Regions from separate parts of the Homo sapiens genome. Here region 2 is linked to region 1. The links are contacts of gene promoters, found by promoter capture Hi-C in human tissues and cell types (Jung and others, 2019). All regions are on one chromosome and are shown on one strand. The core of a region is centred on a gene start or on the middle of the fragment in contact, and the rest is flanking DNA. Distances in the headings are between cores, read along the strand shown. Region 1 holds the start of TLR4 (toll like receptor 4). Region 2 has its middle 16 kb from the start of BRINP1.

Evidence for each region. Contacts are between HindIII fragments. The study calls those that stand out against the background at their distance.
Region 2: a fragment that was not itself captured here is called in contact with the fragment with the promoter of TLR4 in region 1 in 1 of the 25 tissues and cell types used here (mesenchymal stem cells).

The regions. Positions count from the first base shown.
Region 1 is chr9:117,701,587-117,709,229 of GRCh38, forward strand. It overlaps TLR4 (toll like receptor 4), which reads left to right and starts at 2,817. Exons shown (of 3, transcript NM_138554.5): 1 at 2,817-2,979; 2 at 6,977-7,143. The coding sequence starts at 2,887. It also overlaps the pseudogene RNU6-1082P. RefSeq lists enhancers at 2,239-3,438, 2,386-2,886, 2,787-2,836, 2,847-2,916, 2,887-3,387 and 1 more. The HindIII fragment of the contact is 6,617 bases long and covers 1,591-7,643 here.
Region 2 is chr9:119,381,138-119,388,780 of GRCh38, forward strand. No RefSeq gene overlaps it. Among named protein-coding and RNA genes, the nearest start is that of BRINP1, 16 kb to the left of the region's middle. The HindIII fragment of the contact is 9,505 bases long and covers 1-7,643 here.

The DNA.
Region 1 (7,643 bases), core at 1,567-4,066:
TCGGCTATGGTGAAAACAACAGATCAGAAGATGATGCCACTGGAAATATAGTTTGTTGTTTACAGTTCCTAAGAAGCGGGGGCATGCCACACCATGCAGGGCCACATTGGTAGCACCAGAGTCCGTCAGGAGGCAGAGGGAGCAAGAGGAAATTATAGGCACAAGCTTTTATTGTTGTTACTGCAGAAAAGGCAAGGCAAGGCAGGGTAAGCAGGGATAGGACTGGCTAGTTTGAATAACCTCAGTGGGCTCTGGGGTAGAGGGTCTGTCTCTAGTTGTCTGGTACCTGGACCTGTGATGATTAGGGCTGAATAACGGTGTCTACTTGGGTGTAAAAGCCAGGTAGAGGAGGTGGTTCAGAGGAAGGGCTCTGGATTGCTTAGTGTGCATAAGGCATGCTCCAGAGCAAATCTTTTGCTATTTTTTAGAACTAACTAGCCCTGGTAAGTGCAGTCTCTTCCCAGATGCCAGAACATCAAGAACACAGAAAAGAAGACAATTGGGTTAATACATGTTTAGCATGAGAAATGAGGAAGTAAGGGAAATAAAGTCAAAGAGATTTCCACCTTGGATGACTATGTCAAAGTGAAACACCATTAACTTTCCAGGGAACTAAACTTTATTGAGCACCTACTCTGTGTCAGGCACTGCTCTAAAATCTTTACATGAATAATCTCAATACTCAGAGCAAAGCTTTGACATGGAGGTTGTTTTTATCTTAACTCTACTGGTGTGTTGATGGAGTCTACAAGAGTTTGTGCCCAGTCCACCACAAAATGGTCCCTCACAGCTTGGTTTTTGACACGTTGGATTGGAAGTGCTTGGAGGATATTACAGTAGAACTATCTAGGACTTAGCATGCATAATATTCCTGTTTTAAATCAGGTTCTTATTTAACAGAAACTTACATTGCACTTGCTACTTTCCAGACACTGTCCTAAAAGCTTTACAAATGCCAGTTCATTTAATCCCAATACAATACTTTGAGATACATATTATCATCTTCATTCTATCCACATTTTCAATCCTCATCATAGCTCTCATTTATGGAATGTAATGATGATGCTCTAGACTAGACGTTTTACGTAAGTTAGCTTAATTCAGTAATTCAAAACACATGCGATTATCTTCGTTTTAAAGACCAGAAAACTAAAGGTTGGTAGGTTTGTATAATTTGACTACCATTGCGTATCTTTATTTTAATACATTTTATAAATGCAAGCTTCTGCTATGATTAAAAGTGATTACCACATTTTACAGACCAGAAAGTAATAATAAGTGTTGGTGAAGATGTGAAAAAATGAGAACTCCTGTACACCATTTGTGGGAATGTAAAATGGTACAGATGCTGTGGAGAATCATATGGTGGGTGCTCAAAAAATTAAAAATAGATTTACCACATGATCCAGCAATCTCACTTCTGAGTACGTATCCAAAAGAATTGAAAACAGAGACTTTAAGAGATATTTGTACAACCATGTTTATGGCAGCATTATTCACAATAGCTAACGTGTGGCAACAATGCAAGTGTCCATGAACAGACAAATGGATAAGCAAAATGTGGTCTATACATACAATGGAATATTGTTCAGCTTTAAAAAGGAAGGAGGCTTTGATCTATACTACACAGAAAAGAACCTTGAGGACATTATGCAAAGTGAAATAAGCCAGTGACAAAAAGATACATACTGTATGATTCCACTTCTAAGAGCTGCCTAGAGTAGTCAAGATTATAGAGACAAAAGTAGTGCATAGATTCAAGGGCCTAGGGAAAGGGGAAATGGGGAGTTATTTATTAATGAATAGTGGTGATGATTGTACAAAAATATGAACATAATTAATGCCACTAAATTGTACACATACAAATGGTCAAGATAATAAATTTTATGTTATGTCATGTTATGTTATGTGATTTTACCATAATACAGAAAATGAAAAAAGAAAAGAAAGAAAGTAAAGCTTAGCGGTTTACATGACTTGACCAATGCCTCAAAGCCATGAGTCACCCAGCTGAGATCTGAACTTCAGTATATTCCATTCTGAAATCCCAGACTTTTCCCAATCTTCTTGTACTTTTCAAACTGTGTTTCAGTTGAGGTTTATTTTCAGTTTTGTATGTGAGTTTCTTCACAAGAAGGGGCGGGCCAAATTGTGTCCTGCAAAAACCTACATATCGAAGTCCTAACCCCTCTACCTCAGACTATGACTGTATATGGAGAGAGAGCCTTGAAAGAGGTATGTAAGGTAGAATGAGGTCATTATGGTGGGCCCTAATCCAACATAACTGGTGTCCTTATAAGAAGGGGAGATTAGAATTCAGACACACTTGCTGACACCTTGAGTTCAGACTGGAAGCCTCTAGAATTGTGAGAAAATGAATGTCTGTTGTTTAAGCCACCCAGTCTGTGGTATTTCCTTATGGCAGCCCCAGCAAACTAATACAAATAGTGTTTCCACAGCTGAAACAAAATTGGAAAATCACCGTCATCCTAGAGAGTTACAAGGGCTATTTTAATAGAACCTGATTGTTTTCCTAAATTCACCAAGCCCAGGCAGAGGTCAGATGACTAATTGGGATAAAAGCCAACTAGCTTCCTCTTGCTGTTTCTTTAGCCACTGGTCTGCAGGCGTTTTCTTCTTCTAACTTCCTCTCCTGTGACAAAAGAGATAACTATTAGAGAAACAAAAGTCCAGAATGCTAAGGTTGCCGCTTTCACTTCCTCTCACCCTTTAGCCCAGAACTGCTTTGAATACACCAATTGCTGTGGGGCGGCTCGAGGAAGAGAAGACACCAGTGCCTCAGAAACTGCTCGGTCAGACGGTGATAGCGAGCCACGCATTCACAGGGCCACTGCTGCTCACAGAAGCAGTGAGGATGATGCCAGGATGATGTCTGCCTCGCGCCTGGCTGGGACTCTGATCCCAGCCATGGCCTTCCTCTCCTGCGTGAGACCAGAAAGCTGGGAGCCCTGCGTGGAGGTATGTGGCTGGAGTCAGCTCCTCTGAACTTTCCCTCACTTCTGCCCAGAACTTCTCACTGTGTGCCCTGGTTTGTTTATTTTTGCAAAAAAAAAAAAGAGTTAAATTACCTTAAAGACTCAAGAAGCCACAGAGATCAAATAATTCATTGTTACAGGGCACTAGAGGCAGCCATTGGGGGTTTGTTCCATTTGGAAATTTTGAGTGCTAACAGGGGCATGAGATAACATAGATCTGCTTAAGGTCCCTGCTCTGCTACCTTGTGGCTCTGTGAAGAAATTATCAAACCTGTCTGAGACTAGTTTTCGCATCTGTAAGAGAATTATAATACCTTCTTCACTAGAGAGTAAGCAGACTGCTTCAGTGTCATTTCTTCCCACTGGTGGTCTTTACACTCAGCTTCAAGCAGTCACCCTGCTCCTTTCAATCTCAGGAAAAAGATGGCTTTTGTGTGTGTGTCTCTAGAGAAAGAACTTTCTAAGTGGGTGTCAGACTTCTGTATGCAGTAATATAGTTTAGTCCAGAGGATGAAAAAAATAAGAGAATGAAAAAGGAAAAGAGAGAGAGAGAGAAGAAAAAAGCAAGAGGGAAATATGTATAATGTCAGCTAATGCAACAGTTTCTTTCTTAGTGAAATACCAATCAGCTGGTTGGTAATCTTATTCATGATGGATCTCTTTTGTTTTTCCCCTGCGCAGACTTCACAGTTGCTTTAGAAACCCATAGTAGAGCCGAACAGCTAAGAAAATGATTTACAGTGAGGCAGGGTCAGAAACTCAAGAGAGAAAAAGCCAGCTGCAGTCCTGAAGTTGAGGATATAGGAGAAAATCAAGTAATATTTAGCAAAGACTAATTCATTATCTTGAAGCCATCCCTTCCCTCAATTCCCTGCCCATAGTCCTCCTCCTTGTCCTCTTCTCTGTATCCCTCTGCTGTTAGGTTAATGGAGATAGATTTTCTAATTAGGCTCACTGCGAGATAAAACCACAGCCAAACTTGACTTCTTTTCCCCATGTACCTTTTCCTGTCAGTCCCTGAAGCCTGTCCATCCCTGCCCATCCCCTTAGTTCCACTGTAAGGCAGGCCCTCATTTCCCCTGGCATTGACTCTTACACACTAACTGCTTTCCTGATTCCAGTCTTCTTCCTTTAATTCATTCTGCACGTTCTTGTTTGTTATGTACTTGCATTTGTTGTTATTATTTTTCCTTAGGCTTCAATCTAACAAATTACTCTCCTTAAAAACTTTTAATAACTCTCCATTGCCATTAGAACAGCTTTCTACCACAGGGCCTTTGCACTGGCTATTTCTTCTACCTAGAATGCTAGATCAGTGCTATCCATTGGCAATATTATGTGAGCCACATATGTACTTTTAAAGTTTTTAGTAGCCTCATTAAAAAAAGAAACAAGTGAATTTAATTTCGATAATAGTTTTATTTAACTTAGCGTATTTAAAATAATGTTTAAAATTTTAATATATATTTACCTATTATTGATATTTTTACATTCCTTGTTTGGTACTAAGTCTGGAATTTAGTATATGTTTTACATTTACCACACTTCTCAATTTACACTATTCACATTTCTTGTGTTTGATAACTGTGTATGGCTAGTGACTACCGTATTGGTCAGTGCAGCCCAAGTCCTTTTCATGCTTTAATCACTCCATTCAGATCTCTGATTAAATGTCCCCTCCTCAGGGCAGTCTTCCTTGATTGCCCCATGTAGAGCTCTCCAGCCTCACTTATTTGCCTCAAATCCCCTTATACTGCTTAATATTTTTTTTTCTAGAGCACAACATTTTATATTTTTGTTTGTTTATTTTCTCTCTCTCCCTTTGTAATGGAATCGGTAAGGAGGCAGGATCATTGCTGGTTTTATTTACCACTATATTTCCAGTGGCCAGCACACAGTAGCCGCTAGATGTGTAAGTGATAAATGATTGAAATAATTGCTGCAGGACAAAGTCTGAGGCCCTCCTGATCTGGCTTGCCCTCTTACTTAGATTTCACCACTCCCACCACTCACCAGCTAATCTGAGTTTGTTTTCCACTCTTTACGTGCTCACGTTGTCCTCTCCTTAGGACATGTTTTTCTTCCCCTTTCCACATATCTAAACCTTACTCATCTTCCAAGACCCACTTTAAAATCTTCCTTTTCTGGGAAGCCTTTCCTGAATCCAGACTTGATCTCTGCTTTCTCTGAACCACAGGGCATATTTTCTAAGCCTATTTTATGGCCCCTTGAGATAGTGTTAGCTTTGCTCCTATCTAAACTCTTACTCTAGACTGTGAGTCCATTGAAGTCTGGAGCTGCATCATATTTTTCTTTGTAATGCCCACAGCACTTGGCAGGAAATGCCTACAATTTGGACTTAAGTAAACCTTCATTTAATCAGTTATTCAATCAGTTAGTGATTCAGCAAATATTTATTGAGCACCAACCATTTGCCAGACACCATTCTGAGTGCTGGAGACAAAGCAGTGGGCAAACCCATCAAACTTGCAATGGAATACAGGAGATGAACAATACGATGAGAACAATCAGATAGACAACATAATGTTAGATGGTTGTGCTTCCCGTGAAAGGGAATAAAAGAGGGCAAAGAAAGAGTGCCTGGCACTGTTTCTATTAGACAATATTGTCTTTGAGGCTCCATGGCTTGCAACATTTAAGCAGACATACGAATGAAGATCTGCATGTTTGAACTCTGACTTTGCGCATATTACTTCATTTCTTTGAATTTCCATTTTCCTCATCTTTAAATGCTTATTTGAAGATTAAGTGAAAGTATATAACAAACAAGAACTATGCAGGCATATGGTAAGGGATTAATGATAGATGATAATAATTAATGTTGACATCTATTGATCACTTATACTGTAGCGGGCTTTTAAATAAACTCTTTAAACACCTTATCTCATTTAATCCTTCAAACATTCTATTGGTTTCAAACAACAGAAAACTACAATTAGCTGGCTTCTGCAAGGAATTTTGTTGGAGGAAATGAGAGCATTCAGAAATTAGATGGGAGCGTTAGAGAATTAGGCTTACAAAGAATGTGGGAAAGTAGGCTAGAAAGCAGTGTAAAAACAAAGACAGCATAAAGCACTTGACCTTATTTACTAGGTTCCACCATGGGAATCCATGCACTCTAAAGATTTCCCCCTATTTCTACATCACTTTGCTCAAGGGTCAATGAGCCAAGAAAAAGAATGCAGTTGTCAAAATCTGGGCCATGACTAAGGAAGGTCTGGACATCTTGACTGCCAGACAGTCTCCCCAATGATATGGAGTATTTAAAATGATACTGGATATTTTATTTATTTTTTGTATTTTCAACTTTTAAGTTCAGAGGCACATGTGCAGAGCATGCAGGTTTATTACATAAGTAAATGTGTGCCATGGTGATTTGCTGCATAGATCATGAAAATATGGAACGCATCATGGATTTGTGTGTCATCCTTGTGCAGGGGCCATGCTCATCTTCTCTGTATCCTTCCAATTTTAGTGTATGTGCTACTGCAGCAAGCACGATATTGGATATTTTATTACCTACATTTTACATATGATAAAATGAGGCTCACTGAGGTTTTTCTTTTGTTCGTTTTATTTTGTTTTGTTTTTAAAGACTTGGCCCTAAACCACACAGAAGAGCTGGCATGAAACCCAGAGCTTTCAGACTCCGGAGCCTCAGCCCTTCACCCCGATTCCATTGCTTCTTGCTAAATGCTGCCGTTTTATCACGGAGGTTAGAATGCTGAGCACGTAGTAGGTGCTCTTTACTTTCTAATCTAGAGTAAGACAATTTATAAGCATGAATTGAGTGAATGGATGGATGGATATATGGATGGAAGGATGGACAGATGGATGAAAGGTTGACTGAATTTTGTGCTTGCACAAAAAGAGGCCCCTCTCCACCATCTCTGGTCTAGGAGAGGGGAGTTGGGAGACCATGCAGTAAAGATACTTCATGTCATGTGTAATCATTGCAGGTGGTTCCTAATATTACTTATCAATGCATGGAGCTGAATTTCTACAAAATCCCCGACAACCTCCCCTTCTCAACCAAGAACCTGGACCTGAGCTTTAATCCCCTGAGGCATTTAGGCAGCTATAGCTTCTTCAGTTTCCCAGAACTGCAGGTGCTGGATTTATCCAGGTAATGAATCCACTTTTACATACTGCACAAGGTGAGGTGTTCATTGTCCTGTCATTTCATTATTGGACTGGAAAGCTTGGTTTGTGGAGTCTCATCTTCATTCACTTATTCATTCATACAACAGATGTCTTATTAACTATATAACCTTGAGCAAGCTACCTCTATTCTCCAGGTCTCAGTTTTCTAATCTGTGAAGTAGGCAGTTGGCTGAGACAGCTTCTAAGGGCAATTCTAATTTTAGGTTTTCTTTTAAGACAGGAGAGAAAATTAGCTTAAATTCTTTCATAAGCAGCTATTTATTGACTACTTGCTATATGTTGTACACTCTGCAAGAAGACAGGCATATATTGATATATAACACACAGCCCCTGTTGTTAAGGAGGCATATCTTCTTGAAAGAGTTAATACCTTAAAGTCCTGGGTATGGTCCTGGGTACATAGTATATAGTCAACACATTTTAATTATGATTTTTTGGATCTGGAAACTGATATAAAGATAG
Region 2 (7,643 bases), core at 1,642-4,141, 1.7 Mb after region 1:
CCTAGTTGGGTGACCCTCAGCAACATCTTAAACCAGTATCTTCATCTTCAACATGGAGATAATATTTTTCTTACATCTTTTTCAAGGTTGTTTCAGAATCCCAGAACACTTTATCAGAAAGATTCTTAAATACTGCTGAACCTTACACATTTTACAATTCAATGGTCACAGTTAATCTTGAAATGTTCTAATGATGTTATTAAACATTACCAAAGATAGTGCAAAATTGATTCTATTTTTTTAACTTTACATGTCTCAACTCAAAAGCATCACAAATAACAGGAGAAAGTGAATGTGATTAGGAAGGGAATGCTTAAAATGTTTTTTAACTACCTCTTTTCCTTGGATCAAGTAAACTACAGAGCATATTTCAGATATCTATCTTTGAAAATACCAATAAAACACTTAGCAGTAATCTGTATATGCCATTTTCCCACTCCTCGATCTAGAGATCAATTGGTTTTGTTAATGTATACAAGTGGCTATTTTTAATCAATACATCATGGATTCTATGAAATCAGTGTGTAAAAGAAAATAATCCAAAAATCCAATCCAAAGGCTTGTGTGTTCTCTTCATGGCTTTTTCCCCTATTCAACAGTGTGACTCCATGATGGTTAGTTTTATGCATCAATTTGACTGGGCTATGGGGTGTCCAGATATTTGCTCAAATATTACTCTGAGTATTTCTATAAGAGTATTTTTGACAAGATTACACTAAAATCATTAGACTGAATAAAATAGATTGTTGTCCCTAATATGGATACCCTCACCCAATCAGTTGAATGCCAAAACAGAACTAAAAGGCTGACCCTTTCTCCCTGTGTTTTCTTAGTAGGAAAGAATTCTTCCTGCCTGACTGCTTTACAACTGAAACACTGGCTTCTTCCTGCCTTCAGACTTGAACTGTAACATTAGCTTTCCTAGTTCTCAGCCTTTAGACTCAGACTGAAGCTACATCTTCAGCCCAGTTTGTCAAATTATTCCCCAGAATCTTGGGACTTCTTAACTTCCATAATCACATGAGCCAATTCTTTATAATATCTATCTATCCATCTATCTATCAATAATATCTCTAGCCATCCTGTTAGCTCTGTTTCTCTGGAGAACTCTCATACAGACCTAAGAAAGCTATTTAATCTCTGTAGGCCTCTGTTTTGAGAAAATTTAGTGAAAGCATCTTGAAAGTACCTTTCATCTCTGACGACTGGTGTGTCCATGAGCTCTAGTGTGTACTCAGGACCTAATTGCAGCATAGCTACCTGCTCTATTACACCCACGAGGTATAGATTCAAGACCCAATCCAGCACCCACTCTGCTGCTCAAGTCTCAGCTAAAGCAACAAAATCTCAGCTGAAGTGTTGATCTATCTGATGCACTGCACCTAAGAAGCACAATGATCCACTTTCTGTCCTGCCAGATTATCTCCCACCTTCTAAAAGCTGATGGGTAAAAGCAATCACAAAGCTCCTAAGAGTCTATAGAGATATTTGGGGTTGGTACATGAAATTAGCTATGTCATAACAAAACATTACAAAATAGTTCAGTGTGGTTAGAAGACCTTCATATTTATGAAATCTATAACTAACAGCATAATCTTTGAAGCCAGATGAACTTGGATTTAAATCCCTCCTCTGCCATTAATTCAATTAATCTAGGCTATTTCACTTCTCCAAGTTGCATATGTAAAATCGGCCTCATATGTAAAACTGGCCCATAATACTTAGCTTAGAGAACTAACTGAGTAAGGATTAAAAATATTATAGCTTGGCATAGCATCTGACACACTTAATTCTTCATCCAGTGTATGACCAAAGCAGATCGTGTATTATCTCATTGTCAAGGAGATTAAGGTGCAGAAAGTGCCCTAGACCTCATGGTTTATATATGGTAGATTTAGGGTTAAAACCTAGAACCTAAGGCATTATCTAGCATGGGGTATGGATTCAGTCAATGTCTACTGAGTGAAGGAATGAAAAAAAATCAACACACCTAAGCTCACAAACACTTAATATAATTTTCTTTATCTCTTTCTTTCTATAGGCAGAGATATTAGAAAATTCTAACATATAGTGAGCAACCAGAATATACTTTCTGCTTGCTGCATTAACCTGTATTATGACAACTACTCAAACAATGGAAAACACTTCCCTATTATATACAATGTTTAATTTTTATCACACACTATACCGGCTGATTTTTATCATATGCTATATAAAGTAGGTCAAGGTAGCACTTTAAAAAAAAAGTTCATTCTGCAAACAACACTAACAACAAAACTGGTAGCAGAAATGCACCTAGGAGCTAGAAAAAGGCCCAACAAGTGCTCTCTTTCTGGCTGTTTTCCTAAGTCCTATAAGTTACCCAGGGTAGGACAACATAGATGCCACTTGCTCTTCAAAGCCAAGGGGTTTCATGAGCAAGGGATCCTTCATTTCTCATTGATATTCCATAGACAAGACTTGCTGCAAAGTCCCATGATCAATGAGCTAAGATCAGACCTGGTTCCTAGCTCCTCTTACTGTTCTCACAAAACGCAGCTTGTGAGCTGGGAAAAGATAGAGAGATGTTTTTTTCAACCCATTTTCAAGTGCTAGCAGCATGCATTATTCCCAAGTCAGAATAGTTATGCCTGTTCATTGCTACCTTAAACCTGGTTGAATATGCTCCTGGAGAGCTGTGTTGATATTCTGCTGCTCTCTAGGTCTCCTGTGGAATGCAAACTGCATTTCTCTTCTGCAAACAAATACCCCTCAAGTTGTGAGCCTATTTAACTGTGCCCAAAATTCATTGCACAAACATCTGTCTCCTGGGAAGGTGCCGTCTGCCTTAGATAAGACCAGTGGGTCTCAACTGCCTAATAAATGGTCTTAGGTCTAGACCTCTCACACAGGCCTCTACCAAAATGTAGGGGAAACTAAACCTCTCCTGGGGCTTCTGTGCTTTTAGAAATACAAGAAAACCTTTCCACATAATCGCCTTAAAATTTTAGGATTAACAGATTCAGTTGGGACTGTCTGGTTCTAGGAGATCTTTGGTCTAGTCTAAAGATTTGGAATAAATGTTATTTTATTAGCAAGTGAGGGATCTCTGTTTTATTTTTGTTTTTGATTTTTGTTGTGGTTGACATTATTTTTTAACAATCTTCACCATTCTCATTCAATTTAAACTGAATAAACCTCCATGCTTTAGTGAGCTTGCCAAATTTAGGATATGGTAGACTGAGCAAGGGTCCTATACACTTGGGCACATCTGCATTCATGCTGCACAAACTGAATCCCTTGGAATCCAATGGCATTCTAACTCTTAAACATTGCTGATGGAAAAAGAAGGGCACTAGGGTTTTAATCTGGTCTGACCCACTCTCTTCTCAGCTTTATTTATCTGAACAACAGGAGATGCCTTTGGAAGTATTTGTGGGGCACTGAATCAGGAATTAGAGCTAAAATGATCTTTAAAGGTCAGGTTCTAAAATCTGCTCCATCCCAATTTCAATCTGATGCTTGAATCTCAAATATCAGAAATAAAATGGTTAAACTGATTAAAATTCTAAAACTGAGCTGGTATTACAGAGTATTCCCCAGGCCACTGACATGGTTTTTGCCAGCCAAGAGTAACCTTAGGAAAGTAACCCATCCACAGAAATGGAGAAAGCTGTCTCCTCTTGGACCAGCTCTTAGAAGTGGCAGCACCTAGCCCCACGTGGCTGTTGAACAACTGAAATGTGGTAAGTCTGAATTAAGATATGCTGTATGTGTGAAACACACAACTGGTATTGAAGACAGAGTGTGGAAAGGAATGTTAAATGTCTATAATAATTTTTATATCGGTGATATGTTGTAGTGATGTATTTTTGATATATGGGATTTAATAAAATGTGATTATAATTAATTTCATCTATTTCATTTTGCTTTTTGTAATGTGGCTAGGACAAGCTCTTCGAACAGATTTGGGAAGAAGAACGGTCACATAGATAAAAGTCGTTGAGAGTGGAAGGGAAGGGTCACTTAGTCTTGACCCTAGAGAATGAGTAGAAGGTAAATAATAAACACTCTCATGTTTACTCTCACATTAATACCCAGAACGACTCTATGTGGCATCAAAAATTGCATTCCCATTTGAAATGTCATCTCACTGAGGCCAGTAACGTAGAGGTGGTGTGCTATAAATCTAGCCACAGGAGAAGGTAAAATGGGGAGCGTAAACACAGTTCTTTCCACTGTCAAATCTATGTTCTTTCTCCAATACCAAACTGCACCTCTCTAAAATGTATTTACTTTACTATAGCCAGTGGGCTGAAGATTTTCAGTTCTGATTCTTCATCTTCTCTTCTTATCTCCTTTGACCCATCACTCTCAGGACTGCAAACAGGATTTAGTATTGTTATTTTATTTGCAACAACCATTTCTGGTCCCTGCACTCTGCTTGATGCAGTACAAAAATAGTTTGCCCTTTGGGAAGATAATGCTTGGGTCTGTTCACCTCCATGCCTATATCTGTGCTTATGAACCAGGCAGGGTGGAGGGAGATAGCAAGTTGGCTAAATATGGCTCCAGGGGGAGTAAATTTCTGGCTGAGTTGATAATGGAAAATGGAGAATTTCATCTCCAGGTCAGTGACTGAATCTGGTCCAGTCTTTCACTCTCTGCAGTACGTGATTACTTGGTGGATAACAGCTGGGATTTGGGACTTCCCCCAAAGATTCCTTTATTCTCCAAGTGCTCTGCCTCCCTCCTTCTAGCCCATTTCCATGCCATTTTTTAGGCCTACTTTTCTCCAAAAATCTCACCTCATTAATTGGAAATGAAAAGTTAATTCCCACTGACCTCACTTCTTCCCATACCTGAAATAAGAGAAAGAATGAAGAGCAAATGATGTAGAAACATGGGATTAAATGTCATCTCCTGCATATTATAATATGATTACTAATATCTTCATTAAATTGTATTAATTTAATAAAATATCTTTTGTGATTTGTTTTGCAAACTAAGACTTTAATCATATCTTTAGGACTTTTTTTTTTTTTTTTTTGAGACGGAGTCTTGCTCTGTCACCAGGCTGGAGTGCAGTGGCGCGATCTCGGCTCACTGCAACCTCTGCCTCCCGGGTTCAAGCTATTCTGCCTCAGCCTCCCAAGTAACTGGGACTACAGGCACGTGCCACCACGCCCAGCTAATTTTTGTATTTTTAGTAGAGACAAGACTTCACCATGTTGGCCAGGATGGTCTCCATCTCTTAACCTCGTGACCCGCCAGCTTCAGCCTCCCAAAGTGCTGGGATAACAGGCGTGAGCCACTGAGCCTGGCCTATCTTGAAGGATTTTTTTAGTTAACGGTAGTAGGCTGCTTGGATACATTGTCCTTATATATCAGGCATGAAGTATCATTTTTCAAAGGGTGGGGACACAGTTATGCAAAGGCAAGTTCATTGAATCAGAATGAGGAGACTTACATTTTACTGAACTCTCCTGTTTACCTTATATACAATTTTAGGTGTTTCTAGCCCATCTCAACTTCAAGTCCCTTATGTATAAAATGTGAATAATAGCTTGTGCTTTATTGAATTGTCATATGTCAACTCAAGAAGTCAGTTACCTATCCTGGTCTTCATTTATTTATTTTATTCTATTTTATATTTGAGGAAAAATGGTCTCCAAGGTGGGTAAACACACATTGTAGAGATGGAAAGATGATCTATTTTGAGTTTTGAGGAGAAAATATTAGAATTCTATTTCTGTATACATTTCATCCTTCAAAGTTTATTTTTCTTATGTATGTAGGTGATGACAAACATACTGTATAGATATAATAATGTATAACATTTATGAATAAATTACATATATAGAGAAGATAGACTTAGGATATTTTTAGTTCTAGGGATGCACTATCAGGAGTACCACCAAGGCCACGGTTTTAAAATGACCCTTCACAATTTTTCTAACTTATAGTAGTTGAAGATGAGGAAGGTGAAGAAAACTGAACTAAATTAATTATAATACAAGGGCCCGCCTTAGAAGATAAATTTGAAAATTAACTAATCATACAGTTTTTATGTATCTCTCTCTTTCTTAAGCATGAAAGATAGAAGTATACTCTCTTTGCTCAAGATTCTGATCAAAGGAGGCTAGTAGATAAAATTCCAACCTCAGTGGCATTTTTGCAACTGTGTATTAAATGTCTCTGTTCCAAATCTCTTGATCAAGCCAGTCAAATAATCTAGGTTTTGGTAAACAACCCTCTGATGAAGATTCTATGACTTTTTTTTTAACTAGTTCTGTACTCTGACTAGAGGCAGTGAAAGTTTAGTTTTTTAATTTTAAAATTTTGTTTTTAAGGTATACAAATATCAATGACATTGTGTTTGGTAATGAAATGGCTTATATGTACAACTATAAAGTATTGATTAAATGAACTCATACACTACTCAACAGCATTTAAAATTGAGTTGCTGCAGAACATTTAATGTTTTAGGAAAAATTTTATAGTAAGTGGATAAACAAAACAATCTACAAGACAGCAGGTGTAATATGATCCCTTTCACAATGTATGAGATCTCCACATCTGCCCATGAGGGAATAACTGCTATGGGAATTCGCTTTTATAACTAGAAACCTAGACAACATTAAAGAAAAACAAATTGAAGACAAGACTGAACAACAGGCAGTACAGGGTTATAAGGTGTGCACTGACTACCTCTGATTACTCTGAGAGGCACTTTTGAGGTAGTAGCACAAGGAGATAGAACAGAATTGAAACCCAGAAATTTCCCAACTTGAGACAAAGATCGTAGTTTAGGGAGGCCAAGATAACTAGAGTTTTCAGGGCAGAGTACAAGAGATAAAGGGGCCACACAAAGATCTCTAGAGATCTGTATAGGACTCCTCTCAGATGTGTAGCTGAGTATGACCTATATAAGTGTGAGATAAAGTTAACGAAGATCAAAGAAAGGATTTCCAGGAGCAGTAGGCTGACTAATTTCTAGAACTCATAGAGGGCTAGAAATAGTGCCTGTTTTTGCAAGCCAGAGCATAAAGAACTGCTAATATGTGAGGCAGTGGGCCAAATTCTGAGATTGGTATTGCCTTAAGAGTAGGATTAAATTAGTCTCAGCATAAATGCTGCGCTGGACCAGTCATAACAAAACTTTTTAAAAGCAAATCTTGAAATAAACTGTTTCCCAAGTATAGTAATGTATAGTATAGTATAGTAATGTGGGCCAGAACAAAGAAACATATGATATGAATACAAAATATTCAGCATACAATGATACATATTTACAATATCTGACATCCAATAAAAAATTACTGGCATCCAAGAAAGCTAGCAACTCTGATAATAATCAGAAAATAAAACAAATTAGTAGAATCATATTTATAATGTAGATAAGGAAATTTGAAAGCAAGGGAACTTAAAACAACTCCTATAAATATATTCACTATGTTCAGAAAAACAGAGGAAACATGAACATGGTGAGAGGAGAAATGGAATTTAAAAAGATGAAAATGGAAGTTACAGATACAAAAATACAGCATCTAAAATAAAAAATAGACGGTGTTAATCACTGCCAAAGAAAAGATCAATGAACTTGAGACATAGTAATGGGAATTCTCCAAAATGAAGCAGAGGGGGAAAAAAGGCAGAAAAAA